Linked DNA regions of Homo sapiens: region 2 is linked to region 1. Evidence: promoter capture Hi-C in human tissues and cell types (Jung and others, 2019). All regions are on one chromosome and are shown on one strand. The core of a region is centred on a gene start or on the middle of the fragment in contact, and the rest is flanking DNA. Distances in the headings are between cores, read along the strand shown. Region 1 holds the start of FZD6 (frizzled class receptor 6). Region 2 overlaps LRP12 (LDL receptor related protein 12).

Evidence for each region. The method cuts DNA at HindIII sites, captures the fragments that hold promoters and counts their contacts. A contact is called where the count stands out against the background at its distance.
Region 2: a contact is called between a fragment that was not itself captured here and the fragment with the promoter of FZD6 in region 1, in 1 of the 25 tissues and cell types used here (dorsolateral prefrontal cortex).

The regions. Positions count from the first base shown.
Region 1 is chr8:103,297,648-103,302,107 of GRCh38, reverse strand. FZD6 (frizzled class receptor 6) reads right to left here and starts at 3,210. Exons shown (of 7, transcript NM_003506.4): 1 at 3,113-3,210; 2 at 1,824-2,152. The coding sequence starts at 2,000. It overlaps LOC105369147 (a long non-coding RNA gene), which reads left to right and starts at 3,290. Exons shown (of 2, transcript NR_148216.1): 1 at 3,290-3,759. RefSeq lists enhancers at 2,730-2,779, 2,633-3,133, 3,134-3,634 and silencers at 2,773-3,067, 2,930-3,179, 3,300-3,469, 3,480-3,529. The HindIII fragment of the contact is 4,787 bases long and covers 1,681-4,460 here.
Region 2 is chr8:104,577,593-104,582,052 of GRCh38, reverse strand. All of the region lies in intron 1 of LRP12 (LDL receptor related protein 12), which reads left to right. Among named protein-coding and RNA genes, the nearest start is that of LRP12, 9.4 kb to the left of the region's middle. The HindIII fragment of the contact is 4,873 bases long and covers 1-4,310 here.

The DNA of each region.
Region 1 (4,460 bases), core at 1,961-4,460:
GACTGCTTGATGGCTCTCTTCTTTTGTATCCTTAAATTTACTGAAGTATGATTTATAGCAAAAAAAAAAACTTCATTAGTAAAGGCTATGAGAAAGGTTAGTTATAAGTGGAAAATTATATAATGAAGAGATTGGTAGTATTAGCAATCATATAAAAGAGGTAAGAACAAAAAGCCTTCTTGATAATATCCAGGCACAAAACTACTTGGGAAAGAAGCTAGGTAAATTAAAAAGTAATTTTTTTGAAAGTAAAAAAAATTTGGTTTTAAAAAGACGTGCAGAACAAAGCTAGTTGCTACCATCTTATAATTACAGGCATTTAATAGCAGGGATGCATCTCTCTTGAGTCTAGGTGATATGAATTTATAAGGTCACTGTTAGCATTCAAACTTAAAATGGTCAGCCAGGTGCAGTAGCTCGCGCCTGTAATCCTAGCACTTTGGGATGCTGAGGCAGGACGGATCACTTGAGCCTAGGAGTTTGAGACCAGCCTGGGCAACATAGTAAGACCCCATCTCTAAAAGAAAAAACAAAAACCTTAAAATGTATGTAGTTACCACATACAAAGGAAATTAGATTTAAAAAATTTAGGAACACTATTAAAACATGAACACTACAAAACATATTATCATCAGCAAAAAAGTGAATGAATGATGTAATTATTGCTTCACAGTGTTCTCACTATATACTTCATATTGAATCAGATTGAACCATCAAAATGGTTCTGATTCATGAAAGTCTCAGTGCATCATTTGTTCAGTTCAAAAGGACATCTAGCATCAGTTTGAAAAAAACCACTGAAAGATAACAATAATATAATCTGTACTATCCTTTTAAATAACATCTACTTAGTATTTATAAGCTTTCCTATTCCAGACATGAGTCCACAATGAGGCAGTCAGACAACTATTCAACTGAACAACAATAGAAAACTTTCAAAGCTGCAAAATCAAATCTAATCAATTTTAAAAATAGTATATATATTAAATTTGTAGGGATTTCCTCTCTTAGCAACAATCTGAGGGAAAAAAGCCTTTACTATTCTGTTTTTCTGGAGAAAAACTACAAAAACAATGCATGTGTCTAGTTTCCTTCAGGAGACTTAACAACCTAACAAATCTGTATGGGAAGGCAGGTTCCTGTCTGTACAGGTAGCTTTCTTCTCACACTCCCTAGTAATTTGCATATCTCTAAACCAGAGACAGGTAACTAAGGCACCTAAGGCAATCTTTAGTGTCACTGTACTCCTCCCAAGTGGTTTCTTTTAACAAGTATCTTATAAAGAACATATAAGTGCTATGCTTAGAAAACAAAGTCACTTTTTAGTGACTTTGTGATAGCCTTAAAATACAGTCTACAGCAACAAAATATTCTGATAATTTATTTATTTCAGAAAAACTGTACCAAGTGAATATTACAACTACTTATAAAAACTTGTAAATTTCTTCAGTTTTAGTCCAGGCAATAAATATTACATGTTCAGTGAAGTAGAAAAATATTCAGAATTCGCATTTCTAGAAGAACTATCATACTTGATTCAGGAAAGCAAAATATTTTCTAGGTACAAGGTATTTAGAAATCATGTGTAACCATACTTCATTATATAAAATGAACCCTATTCAAACGAATCTACTAAACAGGGCCGCAAAGGTACACAAAACATAAGTCAGTAGAGGGATTTAATTTTCAAAAGGACTTTTCAAAACACAACTTGTACACAACTTGAAGAAATCGGCTCTGTTTAAAAATAGACTTATTTTTACTAGTTTATTCTAGAACAGAGCATAAACTACTATTCAATAAACGTATGAAGCACTACTCACCTCCATTTCCACCGCGGCAATACTCTGGTCATAATGACCCATCAGATTAGGGAAAAACGTCATGTTGTAGGCCATTTTCATACATCTGGGAACAGTAATTGGTTCACAGGTGAAGAGACTGTGCCCTCTTAGGAGGGGTAGAAAAATACACGTCAACAAAAATGTAAACATTTCCATTTTCTTCAAATTCCTGATTTTACCACATGGCTTGGATGAATCACTCTTTGCATCCTCAGAAGATCCCCATCCAAAGATAAAATGTTCAAATTCCTCATTTCACTATTTTACTCATTTTCAGGCTTTCCTGAAAATGAGTCCTGGGTCAATTACTGTAAAAACAAAAGGAGGGTGTATCAGCAACATTTGTCATAAACTCAAATGTGGAGTCAAAGTGCAGAGTTAAGATTTTCACCCCAGGTAACAAACACTGGAAAAACAACGGAAAATTCTGTCCTAACGAGATACTCTTCCACCTGCCTTAGCATGGAATATATCATTTGCTAAGGAAGCTGCACCTCTAGGAAACCGATGCTAGGAGGTTGGTGCTGTATGGAAGACAGGGTTAAAAAGAGGGAATGGCAAGAGTAAGATGGAGGAAAAAAGGAAAGCTGGTGATTCGGAGTAAATTATAAAGGATTAATATAAGCATACAATCTAAGGGCCCCTGTTGGAAAGCTTATTAAGTACAAGAAAACTAAGGCCCTGGGAAATTCCTTAAGACCCAAAGAGTTCTTAAACTTGTAAAAGACTCTGAAGAGTCAGTTTTTGTGGCAGTCTTCTGGGTATGTAGTTTTCTCGATTTTCGTAAGGCCAACTAGAGGGAGACTTTTAGGATTCCTCCAGTGGAGGAGCAACATTGCAGTTTTCACTGGCTAGGAGGGTGTAGTGCTGCCGTCGAAAGGAAAGTGCGCAAATCTGTCCCGGGGGAAGGGCGAAGGCAGTCCCCTTGCGGGAGGAAGGCTGTAGGCCCCGGATTACGAATTACCCGCGCCCCAACACACACTGATGCCCGGTCCGCCAGCGCCCCACACCCGGGAACCTGCCCCAGGCCTAGAGCCAGACAGCAGCGTTCCTGGCCTGCGCGGCGCCGCGGGGCCCCGGCATCGCCTTTCAGAGCCGGTTCCCGCTTCCGAGGAAACTCAGGTGCGGGCCGTCCCGCCGTTGCCTCCCCAGCACCTGCGGCTCCCGGCGCGCCTCATCCCAGCCGCGGCCCCTCGCCCCTCGAGGCCCTCCCCGCTTCCCCCGGCACCCGCCCGGCCCCTGCCCAGTCCCAGCCGTGGAAGCCTCACCTCGGGGGGCGGTCGAAGGCCGCTGTCCCTTCCCGTCCCCGTCTAACCCACCGTTCCCCCCAGGGACCTGAGACGGCTCCGGGGTTGCGTCCGGGACTGGAGCTGCCTCGAGAGCCGCACGGGGAGCGAGAGCTGAGCGATCCCGCGAGACTGCGCCGCCAGGTCGGGCGGGCAGGTCCGGGCTCGCGGCGGCGGCGGCGGCGGCGGCGGCGGCGGCGGCGGGACTGGCCCTGCGCCCGGGCACCGCCTGCGCTGCGCCGCCCGGCCTCACTCCGCGGCCCGCCAGGACCCGGCCCCGGTGAACGGGCTCGGGGTGCCGAGGTCCGGCTGCGGGGCCGGGAAGCCACCTCCACCTTGCCGTCTGTTACGACCCCCGAGGCGCAAGGCTGAGCCCCATCTCGCTATCCGGGTCCGGAGGGGTTCACCTTAGAAGGATTTTTTGAAGCTCTTGGCGCTGGCTCTAAAAGAACCCACTTCCTTGCGGATTTCAGGAGTCAAGAATCCTTAAACGGAGCCAATTTGCTTTGTAAAGCCAATTGCCCAAGTGACTTGAGTTCGAAAGGAGATACTTCCTGGACAACTGCTATAAAAACAACAACAAATACTTTTATTAATTCGGGGAGCCTGGTCACCAACTGGATGCTCAGGTAGCAGTGGGATTCCAGCCCTGGCGGGTCCCACAGTTTTATTGATACAAACCCTAATAGGAAGTTGAACTGCTGTAGAAATCAACCTAGTTTGGGGTACCAACTCTGTCATAGATATTAGATAAATTACCCTAATCTTTAAGGGGCATAGTTTCCTCACAATATAGGAATGACAATAGTTGTAATGATGGTTAACGTTAATTGAGCACTGGCTGTAAGTCAAATAGTGCCAAGTTCGTTACAAGTGTTTACACCTAACCTGTAAGGCCCTCCTATGAAACAGGCAGAATAGTATGAGAAGCAAATGAACTTGTAGAAGTACTTTGAAAAATGCAAAGTAACTTGTAGATGGAGGCTATTCTTGTCAGATAAATCATCCTGTTGCAGAAAAGGAATGTCATATTTCCATACCTAGAAGGACAACCCTGAACAACCAGAGTAAGAGTTTTGGAATCTGTGGGGAAAGACGAATTTGGAGTGGGGAATTCCTCCCCAGTTTTATCAAAAGCTTACTGATGTTGGGAGACAGGTAGTGATGAAGAAATATTAACATCATTAAGAGCTGGATAGTTGATGTATTGCAGAATAAATTTCTATGTAGGAAGAATATTTTCCCCTAAATTTCTAATTTTCTACATTGGAAGACTATTTCTCTCCAGTTTCTACGAACTTAATGAGATCTTTTTGTGATCAGGCTCTAG
Region 2 (4,460 bases), core at 625-3,124, 1.3 Mb before region 1:
TCATAATCTGACTTAATTTCATTAATAGTTAAGGCATCTTTTTACATATATTGGAGAAAACATAAGAATAATCTTTGTATCTGATATATTTTGAAGTAGAATTGTTTCGTGAAATTATTATTGCTTGTGAAAGTTTTGCTAAGAGAATACAGAACACCTATACAAAAAATGCCATGATTAATTCTCAAAATCATTGTGTGAGGTAGGTATTATTAGAAGAAACTGAAGCTTTGAGAATAGTAGTTTTGCCTAAGGTTCATGTCTGTCTACTGCTGTGCTCTTCGTGTAGAGGCCCATTATTTTTTTTTTGTCTACATTATTGTAACAGCCACCAACTAGTCTTAGCTCTAGTCTTGTCCTGATTGAATCATATCACACTTAGCAGTAGCCAGAGTGACTTATCTAAAGTACAGATCTGATAATGTAACTTTCTTGCTTAAAACCCAACAGCAGTTCCCTGTTCTTAAAATATAAATTAAACTCAGCAGAGCTTTCATGATCTGGCTAGTTTTTTTTTTTTCACTTTTAAGTTCAGGAGTACATGTGCAGGTTTGTTATATAAGTAAACTTGTGTCATGGGGGTTTGTTGTACACAATTATTACATGGGGGTTTGTTGTACATAATTATTAATCTGTTTGTTGTACAGATTATTTCATCACCTAGTGATATGTTACATCATATCTAGTGATATCTGTACATCATATCGTATATAGTACCCAGTAGTTATTTTTTCTGATCCTCTCCTTTGTCCCACCCGCCACCTTCTGACAGGCCCCAGTATGTGTTGTTCCCCTTCCTCTATGTGTCCATGTGTTCTCATCATTTAGCTCCCACTTATAAGTGAGAACATGCAGCATTTGGTTTTCTGTTCCTGCATTTGTTTGCTAAGGATAATGGCCCCCACCTCCATCCAAGTTCCTGTAAAGGACATGTTCTTGTTCTTTTTTATGACTACATAGTATTCTATGGTATATGTGTACCACGTTTTCTTTATCCAGTCTGTCATTGATGGGCATTTAGGTTAATTCCATGTCTTTGTTATTGTGAATCAGTGCTACAAGGAACATAACACATGCATGTGTCTTTATAATAGAACAATTTATATTCCTTTGGGTGTATTCCCAGTAATGGGATTGCTGGGTCAATGATATTTCTGTTTTTAGGTCTTTGAGGAGTCGCCACGTTGTCTTCCACAATGATTGAACTAATTACACTTCTCCCAACAGTGTACAAGCATTCCTTTTTCACCACAACCTCGCAAGCATTTGTTATTTTTTTGACCTTTTAATAATTAGCCATTCTGACTGGTGTGAGATGGTATCTCATTGTGGTTTTGATTTGCATTTCTCTGATTGGTGATGTTGAGCTATATTTCATATGATTGTTGGCTGTATGTATGTCTTTTTTTGAAAAGTGTTCATGTCCTTTACCCAGTTTTCAATGGGTTTTTTTCTTGTAAATGTGTTTTAAGTTCTTTATAGATTTAGATTAATTTTTTGTTTGTTTGTTTTGTTTTTTTTTTGAAACGGAGTCTTGCTCTGTCGCCCAGGCTGGAGTGCAGTGGCACAATCTTGGCTCTCTGCAAGCCCCGCCTCGCGGGTTCATGCCATTCTCCTGCCTCAGCCTCCCGAGTAGCTGGGACTACAAGCACCCACCACCATGCCCGGCTAATTTTTTTTTTTTTTTTTTTTTTATTTTTAGTAGAGACAGGGTTTCACTGTGTTAGTCCTGATGGTCTCAATCTCCTGACCTCGTGATCCACCTGCCTGGGCCTCCCAAAGTGCTGGGATTACAGGCGTGAGCCACCGCACCCAGCCTAGATTAGTTCTTAATAGATGCTGGATATTTTGCAAATTATGAATCTTTGTCAGATGCGTAGTTTGCAAAAATTTTCTCCCATTCTGTAGGTAGCCTATTCACTCTGTTGACCGTTTCCTTTGCTGGACAGAAGCTCGTCAGTTTAATTAGATTCCATTTGTCAATTTTTGCATTTGTTGCAATTGCTTTTGGCATCTTTATCCTGAGATCTTTGCCTATTTTTGTGTCTAGAATGGTATTGCCTAGCTTGTCTTCCAGGGTTTTTATAGTTTTGGGTTTTATATTTAAGTCTTCAATCCGTCTTGAGTTAATTTTTGTATATGGTGTAAGGAGGGGTCCAGTTTCAGTCCTCTGCATATGACTAGCCGGTTACCCCAGCACCATTTATTGAATAAGGAATCCTTTTCCTATGGCTCATTTTTGTCAAGTTTGTTGAAGATCAGTTAGTTGTAGATGTGCTGCCTTATTTCTGGGTTCTCTATTGTGTTCCATTGGTCTATGTGTCTGTTTTTGTACGAGTACCATGCAGTTTTGGTTACTGTAGACCTGTAGTGTAGTTTGAAGTTGGGTAGCATGATTTCTTCAGCTTTCTTCTGTTTGCTTAGGATTACCTCTGCTATTTGGGCTCTTTTTTGGTTCTATATGAATTTTAAAATAGTTTCTTCTAGTTCTGTGAAGAATGTCAATGGTCATTTAATAGGAATAGCATTGAATCTGTAAATTGGTTTGGGCAGTATGGCCATTTTAACAGTATTGATTCTTCTTACCCATAAACATAGAATGTTTTTTCATTTGTTTGTGTCATTTCTGATTTCTGTAAGCGTAGTTTTATAGTTCTCCTTCTAGAGATCTTTCACCTCCCTGGTTAGCTGTGTTCCTGGGTATTTTATTCTTTTTATGGCAGTTGTGAATGGAATTACATTCCTGATTTGGCTTCAGCTTGACTGTTGTTGGTGTATAGGAATGTTAGTGATATTTGCACATTGATTTTATATCCTGTGAATTTGCTGAAGTAGTTACCAGCTTAAGAAGCTTTGGGCCCGAGACTATGGGGTTTTCTACATATAGGATCATGTCATTTGCAAACAGGGATAATTTGACATCCTCTCTTCCTATTTAGATGCGCTTTATTTATTTCTTTTGCTTGATTACCCTAACCGAGACTTCCAGTACTATGTTGAATAGCAGTGGTGAGAGAGGGCATCCTTGTCTTGTGTCGGTTTTCAGGGGTCATGCTTCCAGCTTTTGCCCATTCATTATGATGTTGGTTGTGGGTTTGTTTGTCATAGACGGCTCTTATTATTTTGAGGTATATTTCTTAATACCTTGTTTACTGAGAGTTTTTAATATGAAGGGGTGTGGAGTTTCATCAAAAGCCCTTTCTGCATCTGTCAAGATAATCATGTGGTTTTTGTCTTTAGCTCTCTTTATGCGATGAATCACATTTATTGATTTGCATATGTTGAATCAACCTTGCATCCCAGGGATAAAGCCTACTTGATCACGGTGGATAAGCTTTTTGATGTGCTACTGGATTTGGTTTGCAAGTATTTTTTGAGGATTTTTGCATCAGTGTTCATGAAGAATATTGGCCTGATGTTTTCTTTTGTTGCCAGTAAGTTTTTTGTTTTTGCTTGTTTGTTTTTTTAATACCAAAACCGCCATCAGGTTTTGGTATCAGGATGATGCTGACCTCATAGAATGAGTTAGGAGGGAGCCCTTCCTCTTCAATTTTTTTGAATAGTTACAGCAGGAACAGTACCAGCTCTTCTTTGTACATCTGGTAGAATTCAGCTGTGAATCCATCTGGGCATTTTTTGGTTGGTAGGCTGTTTATTACTGACTTAATTTCAGAGTTTGTTATTAGCTTGTTCAGGGATTCAGTTTTTTTCCTGGTTTAGTCTTAGGAAGGTGTATGTGTCCAGTAATTTATCCATTTCTTCTAGATTTTTCTAGTTTATGTGCATACAGGTGTTTGCAACATTCTCTGATGATTGTATTTCTGTGGGGTCTGTGGTAGTATCCCCTTTGTTGTTTCTGATTGTGCTCATTTGAATTTTCTCTCTTCTTTATTAGCCTAGCTAGTGGTCTGTTTTATTAATTTTTTCAAAAAAAAAACCAGCTCCTGGATTTGTTGATGTTTTGAATGGTTTTTTGCATCTCAGTCTCCTTCAGTTCATCTCTGATTTTGGTTATTTCTTGTCTTTACTAGCTTTGGGATTTGTTTGCTCTTGGTTCTCTAGTTCTTTTAGTTGTGATGTTAAGTTGTTAATTTGCAATCTTTCTAACTTTTTGATGTGGGCATTTAGTGCTATAAATTTCCCTTTTAATACTGCCTTAGCTGTGTCCCAGAGATTCTGGGATGTTGTATCTTTGTTCCATTGGTTTCCAAGAACTTTCTTTTTCTTTTTTTTTTTTTTTTTGAGATGGAGTCTCGTTCTGTTACCCAGGCTGGAGCACAGTGGCGCAGTCTTGGCTCACTGCAAGCTCCGCCTCCCTGGTTCATGCCATTCCCCTGCCTCCCCCTCCCGAGTAGCTGAGACTACAGGTGCCCACCACCACGCCCAGCTAATTTTTTTGCATTTTCAGTAGAGACAGGGTTTCACCTTGTTAGCTAGGATGGTCTCAATCTCCTGACCTC